3 separate regions of the Homo sapiens genome follow, and all the other regions are linked to region 1. Evidence: promoter capture Hi-C in 16 types of primary human blood cells and fetal thymus (Javierre and others, 2016). All regions are on one chromosome and are shown on one strand. Each heading gives the region's core, a stretch centred on a gene start or on the middle of the fragment in contact. The rest is flanking DNA. Distances are from core to core; before and after follow the strand shown. Region 1 holds the start of LINC00676 (long intergenic non-protein coding RNA 676). Region 2 overlaps MYO16 (myosin XVI). Region 3 overlaps MYO16 (myosin XVI).

What was found. The method cuts DNA at HindIII sites, captures the fragments that hold promoters and counts their contacts. A CHiCAGO score of 5 or more calls a contact.
Region 2: a contact is called between a fragment that was not itself captured here and the fragment with the promoter of LINC00676 in region 1, in 1 of 17 cell types (endothelial precursors). The highest score is 5.5, in endothelial precursors.
Region 3: a fragment that was not itself captured here is called in contact with the fragment with the promoter of LINC00676 in region 1 in 1 of 17 cell types (monocytes); the score reaches 5.0 in monocytes.

Annotation. Positions count from the first base shown.
Region 1 is chr13:109,726,582-109,730,287 of GRCh38, reverse strand. LINC00676 (long intergenic non-protein coding RNA 676) reads right to left here and starts at 2,014. Exons shown (of 3, transcript NR_103846.1): 1 at 1,743-2,014; 2 at 1,096-1,255; 3 at 254-330. The HindIII fragment of the contact is 6,623 bases long and covers 1-3,706 here.
Region 2 is chr13:108,992,782-108,996,487 of GRCh38, reverse strand. All of the region lies in intron 21 of MYO16 (myosin XVI), which reads right to left. Among named protein-coding and RNA genes, the nearest start is that of MYO16-AS2, 110 kb to the left of the region's middle. The HindIII fragment of the contact is 1,011 bases long and covers 1,598-2,608 here.
Region 3 is chr13:109,129,672-109,133,377 of GRCh38, reverse strand. All of the region lies in intron 31 of MYO16 (myosin XVI), which reads right to left. Among named protein-coding and RNA genes, the nearest start is that of MYO16-AS2, 30 kb to the right of the region's middle. The HindIII fragment of the contact is 1,249 bases long and covers 1,167-2,415 here.

The DNA.
Region 1 (3,706 bases), core at 765-3,264:
GACAGGGTCTTGCTCTGTCGCCCAGGCTGGAGTGGGTTGTTGTGATCTCGCCTCATTGCAACTTCCATCTCCTGGGTTTAAGCGATTCTCCTGCCTCAGCCTCCTGAGTAGCTGAGATTACAGGCACGGACCACCTTGCCCGGCTAATTTTTGTACTTTAGTAGAGAGAGGGTTTTGCAATGTTGGCCAGGCTTGTCTGGAACTCCTGACCTCAAGTAATCCTCCTGCCTCAGCCTCCTAAAGTGCTGGGATTACAGGCGTGAGCCACCACACCCGGCCCAAGTCAACGTATTTATAATATGTGAATTGTTTGCACACCTATTTCAAGCACTGGAAAAGAAAAAAAAGAAAAGAAACAGGTCCATGAATGAGGTAAGCAGAGTTGGACCCAAATACTTCAATGCCTTCTCAACAATTTCTTCTAAATGGCTTCCCGAAATTAGCTCTGCACGACCTATCTTTCTTGGGGGGTGGGGAAGCGATTACTTTTTAAAAGCCACATTAAAGTGTGTGTTCTATATCACGATGGCAGTTAAGGGAGGGGAGGCGTCTACAGCTGACCTGGGGAAGTTTTAATCATTGAACTATGCACAAGTGGGGCCGGGGCGGGAAGCGGCAGGAAAATGAGGCACCTTCTGCAGAACCTAGCCAGCCTGCAGGCGTTCCTGATCTGAGGAAAACACTTTAATTAATATGTAAAACAGCAGTGGGGAGAAAAGCAAGGTTAATTTCCAAACCACATCACTACCAGCGGTATTTGGGTTATGAAACCTTGGGAAACTTCTAGGAGATCCTGTTTGAAGGCACAGAGGTGCTTTTGTGTGTGAGTAGCTTCTGAGATGCTCAAAAGCTCTTTTATCTGCCCCCTGCAGTGGTATTGCTCTTTCTGTGTTTAAAAACACTGCCTTTGACTGGCAGGCTTTTGTTTTTAATTTGCAGTGCATCCTCCATTTTTGTTTGGAACTTGCCTGAAAGCAGCGTTTAGGGGAGAGAGAGCTGTTTGATTTCCTTTGTTGCGGCTTTCTTAGCTGCTGGCTACCTTTGGAATGTGTGACACAGGCGTCTCTCCTGGTTAGGAAAATGTTCTGTACTTGCCTGGGGTGAGACTGTAGCTCATTTCCTGGGTTGAGATCTAAAATCCTGAGCAGAGTTAAGTGTATCAAATAGTGGCTGTGCCAAGGATCAGTGTCTGGTGGAGACAGCGGATTTTCCAAGGTCATGGAAGTGAAGAAACAGCTGACAAGTCTTTCCCTAGCTTGAGCAGAAACAGCTCCATTCAGTGCGTGAACAATTAACTCAATTAGAGAATGTGCAGCTTTCTAAAGACGCGTCCACTGTGAGTGCGTGTGCCTGCGTTTCCTGCCTCCCTCTCCTCACAGACACCTCAAAAGCAACATATCTGAAAAGTCCTCTTAGCTACCCTGTCTAGGAGAAGTCAGAGGCTTGAGGACGATACTGTGTTCCTCCCACCGCTTGGTATCCCACCAACACCCGCTCCTGGCCATTAGACACTCAAGCATCTTTCAAGTAGGGAGATGACTTTTTTGGGGGTCATAGACTCCTTTGAGAATTAAAGTTTACCCCAGGAGGAAAATAATATCTGCACATACCAAGATCAGCACACACTTTCAGGGGTTTTCCCATACCTACTTTAAGCCCAATTAGGATTTCTGTACTAAAATCAATCCCTCTGTCCCATTTCCTCTGCCACAGCCGTATGTGCAGCCCCACGCGTTACTTACATCTAGCCTGGAGGGTTAACTTTGACTTCCCAGCTTCTGGCACAATTTCCTTCTCCATCGCAGGCCGGAGTGGTCTCCACATTCCCCAAGGGCTCACCCATGACCTTTAGAAGAAAGTCCAAGCACTAGCTTGGCACTCAAAGTCTAAGGAATTCTTCATCCCGTGCTCCAGGCACATGAAATGCCTGTGTTTTCGTGAGCAAACGTTTCTCCTGTGGCCTTCCAGTTTCTCCCAGTACATCCTGTGGACTATCGTGGAGGATTTGCATTGCAGTGTGTGCCTCTCAGGTCCATGTTGGAGTGCCCTGCGTCCGCCTCCCTCTGCGCGGTCCACTCAGCTGGGTGGCGTCACTGGTGACTGGGCTTCTGCCTCCTTCCTTTCACTGGGAGACTCCTCAGTCAGAGTCTGGGTCTTCATCTCTAAACCCCCCGGGGCAGCAGCAGTCCCTGATTTTGACATAGGAGATTAGGACTGCAGCTTGTAGGGAGGTGGTGATCCACGGAGGGGCTTCTTCTGAAGCTGACTTTTGTAGCAAGCACAGTGTTCCAACTTACATTAAATACACGTGGGGTGGCTTGATATGACGATGGAGAAGATCCCACATTGCACAAGGTGGGAGCTAAAGCCCCAGTCCTCGCCCTGCAGCTGTAGTACACAGCTTCACAGTTACGTGCACTGCCACATGTATGTAATAATCTGGTATGTAACAGGTGCTTGTTGAATATTTGTTGGATGAATAGATGAGTGACCCTAGAAAAACACAATGCAGACCTATGGGTAGAAGAAGAAAAGAACCTGGAGTTTCCTGGAAGTTAGGGGTTCCAGCCCACCTCTGTCCACAGCCATGTGATCTCACACACACACACACACACACACACACCTACACCTGCACCCATGAGCCTCCCCACTTTGTCAGGGATCATGATTCACAGGTTATGCTGCATCTCCTAACTTTTCCATTTCTTTGCACTCACTTTTTCACTCCATTTATAGGCACACAGCAACCCCGTCTCCTGCAATGACCCCTGCTCCAGGCCTCACATAAACCACCTGCTATCTGTACTCGGCAGCCCTGGTCCGAAGGCAAACACAGTCCTGGTTGCCCCACCTGACGCAATTGCTCCTAGCATTTCTTATTCACTCTCCAGCTTTCGCTTGGCTCTACCCTCTGCTGAAACAGCTAACCCTCTTGCCTGGCAGAGTCAAGGAAATTTTTGAGTCCAGGGCCTTCAACCTTGTGTCTTCAGGAGCCTCTGCAAAGCTGGGTGCCATGTAGGTGGGCTCTCTCCTTCCACTCCCTGTCGTCTTCATTCTCTAGCCCTCCGTATCACCCTTCTGGGCAATTCTTTCTCAGCTCACTTAGCGAATGTAAGGAAGTGTTTCATTTTCAGTCTTTCAAATCTTTTTTCAAATACTTCGTATTCAATCATTTCCTCTTCTTGGATAGAGTTTTGTGTTTTAAGTACAGTGTTATCCAATGGCTAGATCCGCACCTCTAGCCAGCTCACCACTCTGTGGCCCAGACTCTCTTTGCCAACTGTTTAACTCTCGTGTATAAATGACAGGCAGCTGCATATGTCCATATGTCCAGCTGTCTGTTCTGCAGTGGGTCACTTATGGGATCAGATTGTACATCTGCCTGTTTCACTTCAAATTGCCTCTTCTTTGCAAGCATCCAGGGGTGTCTTGCCTCACATACAAACAAACACAGAACAAAACTAAAAACCTCAAAGGAATTTCTGTGTTGAAGAGGTTTTAATGGTAAAATAATTAAGTTTACTTGCGATTAAAAAATAATTGTAAATTTTTATTAAAAAACCCTCAAAACTATCTTGCTGTATTTTTCTTTTATTATAATCAAAGTTTAGGCAAGAAGAGGGGTATCTATTGGCTCATGAAGTTTAACAGTTCCCTGGATTGACCTAGAACAGTGCTTTTCAAAATAAGCATCAGGCCCATCTAG
Region 2 (3,706 bases), core at 854-3,353, 730 kb after region 1:
CCAATAAATAATAATTTTTAAAAATTTCATCAACTGTCCAGATTGCACATTACTTTAATTATAGCTTTTATACATAATTTAGCACATTAGGGCCCAAGAATGCCCACACATTCAGCTGTTGTACATGTCTTTAGATAGGTTTTAATCTACAGGTGCCCTCCTTTCACAATTTTTCTCTGCATTTTATATGTTGAAGAAGTCAGTTGTTTGTCCTGTACAGTTTTCCACACACTGAAAAGTACCACTGGAAGTACCAAATTACTGCTGAGCTATGTGAACTATATTTTTTACACTAGTATTGTACTTATTATAAGAAATAATTTTGCTATTGTGAATAGTGCCGCAATAAACATACATGTGCATGTGTCTTTATAGCAGCATGATTTATAATCCTTTGGGTATATACCCAGTAATGGGATGGCTGGGTCAAACTGTATTTCTAGTTCAAGATCCCTGAGGAATCGCCACACTGACTTCCACAATGGTTGAACTAGTTTACAGTCCCACCAACAGTGTAAAAGTGTTCCTATTTCTCCACATCCTCTCCAGCACCTGTTGCTTCCTGATTTTTAATGATCGCCATTCTAACTGGTGTGAGATGCACTATTCACAATAGCAAAGACTTGGAACAAACCCAAATGTCCATCAATGATAGACTGGATTAAGAAAATGTGGTACATATACACCATGGAATACTATGCAGCCATAAAAAATGATGAGTTCATGTCCTTTGTAGGGACATGGATGAAGCTGGAAACCATCATTCTCAGCAAACCATCGCAAGGACAAAAAACGAAACACCGCATGTTCTCACTCATAGGTGGGAATTGAACAATGAGAACACATGGGCACAGGAAGGGGAACATCACACACCAGGGCCTGTTGTGGAGTGGGGAGAGGGGGGAGGGATAGCATTTGGAGATATACCTAATGTTAAATGACGAGTTGATGGGGGCAGCACACCAACATGGCACATGTATACCTATGTAACTAACCTGCATGTTGTGCACATGTACCCTAAAACTTAAAGTATAATAATAAAAAAAAGAAATACTTTTGAATAGAAATGATTCGTTAATTCTGCTATGGTCTGAATGTGTTCCTCCACAATTTGCCAAAGTGATGGGATTAGAAGGTGGGGCCTTTGGGAGGCGATTTAGGTCATAATGGCGCCACCATCCCGAGTGAGATTAGTGCCCTTAATAAAGGAAGCCCCAGAGAGCTGCCTTGATCCTCCCTCATGAGTGGATGTGGCAAGAAGGCAGCATCTATGAAGCAGAGAGCCCTCACCAGACACCAAGTCCACTGCCATCTTGATCTTACATTTCCTGGCCTCCAGAACTGTGAGCGATAAATTTCTGCTGTTTGTCAATTACCTCCTCTAAGGTATTTTGTTCTAGCTGCCTGAACTGACTAAGATAAAGTCAGAGAAAATGCGATCAGAATTTCCTATTAGCTGTAGTATCTCATCTTTTAGATGAGAATCCATTTAATCTTTTGGAGCTACTGGAGGAGACTGAGGTTGGAGATGCTGAAGTTTTGGAGTGTTTCTTAACATCTCCTCAAATGTGTCCCTACTCTAAACAATTGTCAAGCTTCCTGTGGAGGAACAATTGTCATTTATTCCTGAACAAGAAGAACCACTATGAAATCCACTATGAAGACTTTTTTCTTAGGAGTTTATTCTTCTTTAAACTTCAATTGAAAACATGTTCGTTGAACTTTTATTATATACAAAGCACAGACACAATTTCAACTCTGCAGGAGTTGACGTTCGAGTGAAGAACTGATGGATGGGTCAATAAGCGCAAAACAGAATAAAAAACATATTATAAAAGCACTAATATTCTTCTAGGTTTGATTCTGAATACAGCATTGATTTGTTAAGCATTTTGTTGCAAGTTTGTAGTGGAATAAAAGACAAAAAGTCCAGCTTCTGTTAGCAACACAGAAATCTAAAATGTATCGCTCAAACCAATGGTCTTAAAAAAAATTACATGCAAATTTGCACTCGTCAAAAGATGAGATTTGTACTTATCATAAGATGAGATTTGCACTCATCACAATGGAAATAATTTTATTCTTCTAAATGACTCCTAGTTGCTTTTGTACACAATAGCAAAGCAAACCTGTTAAAAATTATATATATATATGTGTGTGTGTGTGTGTGTATTTCAAATTTTTTTCAAAATTTAAGTCCCAGAATTGTTCTTGAGATTTTTACCCATAAATGCCTAAAGCTAGCTTTTGGCATTTAATAGAGACTGGCTCTTTAGATGTGAAAAAAATGCCATTACTATTATACAGAAATCTCAGGCTGTAAATGTATTCCAAAATAAATCATAAAAATATTTAGCAAAAGAAGGACTAATAAGGGATTTATATAATTGTAGTAAAATAAATATGTTTCAGTAAGAAAATAACTTAAAAGTTTTGCACGTATTCATCATTAGGACACTCTATTGACAATTATGTCTGGGTGTGGAGTTGCAGCTTGTGAGGCAAGTCCCCTAGCAGACTTTAGAGGACATCATTCCATCTGTAATTTCTACATGTCGCTTACCAGGAGATGGATAAACCAGTGACTCTCATTGCAGACATGAAAGCTTGCCTGTTTTCTAAGATAATAACATAAGGAATCTCTACTGATGCCAGACAGCTTCAAACCCTTGAGCTGAGAGATGCACCTTCTTAAGCACCCTGCAGACCCACATATATTGTCATATATTCTATTGGTCACACTCAACTGCTTTCTTCCTTATGTTCATCATTACTTTTCTCACAGTAAGCAATAAAAATAAACACATGAAGTATCTCCTTTTCTATTAATCCACAGAAAACTATGAAAGGAGAAGAGATCTATTGCCTCTATAGTTCTAGTTCAAACTAGACATTTTGTGAAGTTTTGTAAGGAACGTGGTTCGTGCTGACTCACCCTGGATTAGGTAAGTCAGCGTAATTAACATCTAAACACAGGATGATGCAGAGCTTTTCTAAAAATAAAATTGGCCAATTTTTAAGTTATTAAAGTGCTCCCATTTGCAACAGTAACGGGTAGGTATCCATCATTTCTTAATCATATACAGTATGAGAGTAACTGACACGAGAACCTGTTTAATTATGTTTAATCTCAGAACTCTGTAAGTCTATTAACCTGATTTTACAAACAAGAAAACCAAAGTTCACTATAGAGTCTTCATCTTGGCCAAGAAATCGACGCTACTAAAAGTCACAGACTTGCATCTCAAACACATTCTATTTAATTGTTTATCCTACCACACCACCTTAAGAAAATAAAGCTAAACAAATTACGTAACTATGAAAATTCCTCCCAAATGCTATGGAGTTGTAATTCTTCCCGTACTATAATGTAGCTTGGTTTTCTATTTTTTCATGTTTACCTTCCTACAGGTTGACTTTTCTCCTCTGTTTGATAAGGAGAGTTGTATTTCTACTGTCTTTATTAACACTTAGTTTTTAGGTATACTTAATAAAACTATTCATGCAGTGCTATTAAGATGACTACATAATTTAATACTTTTAAAATGCCCCAAATTATAGATGGATTAAAAACAACCCATGCCTCTCTAATGTATTTTTATGATTTTCCAATAGTCCTATGTATGAATGTCATATGGAGATGAATCTACAAATAACAGCATGTAGCATAACAGAGCATTTTCATTCTGATGTTTAGCCAAGGTTT
Region 3 (3,706 bases), core at 542-3,041, 600 kb after region 1:
AAAAGGAGGAATGAGATGCTTGTTCATCCAAAATAAACAGTGTCTGCGTGTGTAACTCTCCTCCATTTTCCAACACTTCTAGTGTGGTTGTGCTAGTTTCAGAGCGAAAGCAAACATAGCACAGAGCACAGGACCTAGGACAAAAAAGATGCTTAATTAAGTGCCTGCTAGCTGACTGCTGAGGCTGCGTACATGAGTGGATGTAGGATAGATTTACAACCAGCTGCAAAATGGACAGAAAGGACTTCTACTGAGCTGTCATATGTCGCAACTTTGTTATAACTTTTCTTTCCTGGTGGGAGGAGCGGTTCAGGCAATACCATTGCCTTCCATGCCCCCATCTTTTACCCTCTTGACTGCACTACTGCACTCGATGCTGTTGGCATGCCCTTCCTGAGCCTTTCGCAGTTTCCACGGAGGGCAAGGCACTCTGTGGCCCAGTGTGCACCCATCACGTCCTCACTGCTGTGGTTGTGCTTCCCCTATAATTTGTTTGACCACTTATCTCTCCTACTGGTCTGTCAGATCCTCGGGGAGAATCCAGGCTCATGGAAGACACTTAATTACTATTTGTTGGATGTACAACTGCGTCATAGGTGGTGAACTGTGCAATTGTGTTCTGTTATTCCCAGTAACACATTTCTCAGAAGAGCAACACAGAAGACCTAATTTCTGTCCATTTAAAATTTTTTTAAAGGGCTTCTGTTAAAAATATGCAGACAAATCTAGCCTTGACACATTTCAAGGGTACTTCTCGAACCTTGCCAAATTGTGCTCCCTCTCATATACCGATAGGAAGCAAATTCTCTTTTAATGAAGAGAGTGTAGAGAAATAGATTTCTGTAACATGTATTCACTTGGTAAGTATTTGATGAGTGCTTACTATGTGACACATGTTGTTCTAGAATGAAGACAGAAACAAGAGAGTAAAGAAAAGACATATTATTTCCAAATTAAGCCACAGAGCTGAGCCATGATTGTGTCTACACATGTAAACTGTGTTTTGTGGAGAATGCAGTTGTACAGCAATTTTGGAAAAAACAATTATGGTTTCATTAAGGTATGATCCCCAAGGAGGGGACAGCTGGAGTCTGAAGGGAGGGTGAGTGTGGAAGCATCAACATAGAACGGTGAACAGTGAGGACTAGAGCTGCCTGAGAAAAGCTTGCTTCTGCAATTTCACCTTGAGCAACCGTCACTCCAAGCCAGGCACAGCACCACTGACATCATGACTTAATTGCAAGTCCCACATCTTAGGATTTAGTATCCATTTCACAGATGAGGAAACTGACTGTCAGAGGCTTCATTAACAACAAAGTTATATGCATGTAACTTTGCTGTGCGCTTGCTACGTCCTGGGCAATGAGGCTTTACAGTCCTTTGCTTCTTAACTCCCCAGAAATAGCCCTTGCCATGTCTCGGCTGTTGCTGCTACTTGACATACATGGGCTTGGAAAGACTGAGTCACTTCTTCAAAGTCACACGCATGAAATGCAGGCTTATATTTAACTTCAGTCAGGAGACAATTCGAGAGAATGTTAACCGTCTTTGGGAGAAAGGCTGCACCCGGTGTGTGAGGAATGAACTCTGCAGAACAGCACTCCAGCTGGGAGGCCCCAGCCAAGAGGAAGTGAAAACGAGGCCCTATCTTTCCTTTCCTAGCCACTATTTGCAAAGAGCAACTGCAGGCTTTTATTCAATGGCAAAAACCACAATTCCTTTTGCACTGACCTAACAAAAACATAGTACTTTTAAAAAGTTGTCTCAGCAACATGGCACATGCATACATATGTAACAAACCTGCACGTTGTGCACATGTACCCTAAAACTTAAAGTATAATAAAAAAAAAAGTTGTCTCTAGCTTGCTGGTAGTTTGCAAAGAAGTGTTAACATTTATTGGCCTGCAAAATTGTTTCACGCTTTTGAGGCACAAAGGAAATGAGAAAAAATTGCTCTCTGTACTGTTTTCCTTCACCACAACCATTTTTATTGGGTGAAGACCTACCAGGAAAGACATATGCTAGTAAGAACAAGAATAAATACAAAGACAACTTTGAAGTGACCGTGGTGCTGGTCACCCTACAATCCTTGGCCCTTGGTCTCCGATCAGATCTCCTTTCACTCTGTAACCATCTGAATTGATTCGCAGCTTTATTTGTAAAGGAAAAGAACTTGAACTTGATTTTTTAACATGCCAAAAAGGATGGCTCAGGTACAAAACCAACTTCAGCCGTAGTCCTTGATCCTGCGAAACCAAGGTTCACCAAACATTTTAGAATAGTGATCAAATGGTCTTCCTATCTTTTGACAGAAAGGAGAATAATTTTGTGACACGTTACTAGATGCAAAAAATTCAGTATCACCGCTTGGTAGACACACAAAGCATTTAGAATCAGGGTTGTCTAAGAGAAGCTTCGGTGATGATGGAAAAATTCTACCCCTGTGGCTACTGAGTACTTGGAAAGTGACTGATGATGGAGGAATGAAATTTAAAATTGTATTTAATTTTATTTACTCTAAACTTAATTGGCTACGTGTGCCTAGTGGCTACTGCATTGAACAACAAAGACTTAGATTATACTCGGATTGTGTTGGACTGAGGGAGATGTCTAACATGCTAGGATCAATTTCATCACTGTCCTAACTCAACCACCTTCAGCTCCTGACATAATGGCACAGAAGGGACCAGAACCCTGTCTGACAGCTGGCTTATCACGTGTGGGTGGAGCTACCTTTGCGATCATGGATTACAAACCCAGACCACTGACAGACTGAGTGGCTAAGCTCCTGCGCTTGCCCTCTCTGACTCCCTAATGCTGTAAAAACTAATCAGCAAGCATGCTCAAGCAGCTTAAGCTGGTTAATTGTCTTATTCTTAAAAATATACAGTATTGAGAGCACATGCCAGAATGCAGAAATACATCTCTAGTTGCAGGAGATCAAAGACTTTCTTTTTGTGGTGGTGGTTGTAAAGTAACCAGCATGAAGAATTATGTACTGTAAGAAAGAACAGATAATGTAGATGGTAAAAAGGAAACAATGCATACACTTGCCCTTTGACAAGCTTCTGAAAGGTCTGCTCACCAGGGTGCGACACAGTGGACCAAACGCATCTCTAAGTACCTTATAGTCACATATGAGACAAAATTAGGATCCAAGAAACTAAATTTTACATAAATATCTTGCATGCCTAATGCTATCACATGATGTATTTTGATAGCATGTAATAAGGAATTTAAGAGTTATGATAGCTGTCTTCTTTATTAATCTTTTTTGGGGTCACTTTGCTTTCATATTATGTGTGTGTATAGATATATACATATGTGTGTGTGTGTGTGTATATATATCTCCTATGGTTCCTAACTTTTATTTTAATTGACTTTTTTTTTTTTTTTGCTGCCCATAGGAGAGAGCTCTCTGAGGTCAGCTTCTTCCTATTTGATCCCCCTTCATAACATGTGACAAAGTGGTCCCCTCATTACTCCAGGGCAGTGGTGTTTTAAGGTGCACACAAACCTTTAGCTTTTTCTAGATGTTACAAGGTATTCTGAAGCCTATTTATGCAACTTTCTAGAGCCTGTTTGCAGGGTTCAAGCTCGGATGGGGCTCCATTCTGTACTTGCTGCAATTTTCAATCACATTTCATTACTGTTTTTTCAATGTCTGGTACTATCTGGAGTCTTAATTTCGTACCCTCTCCATCTT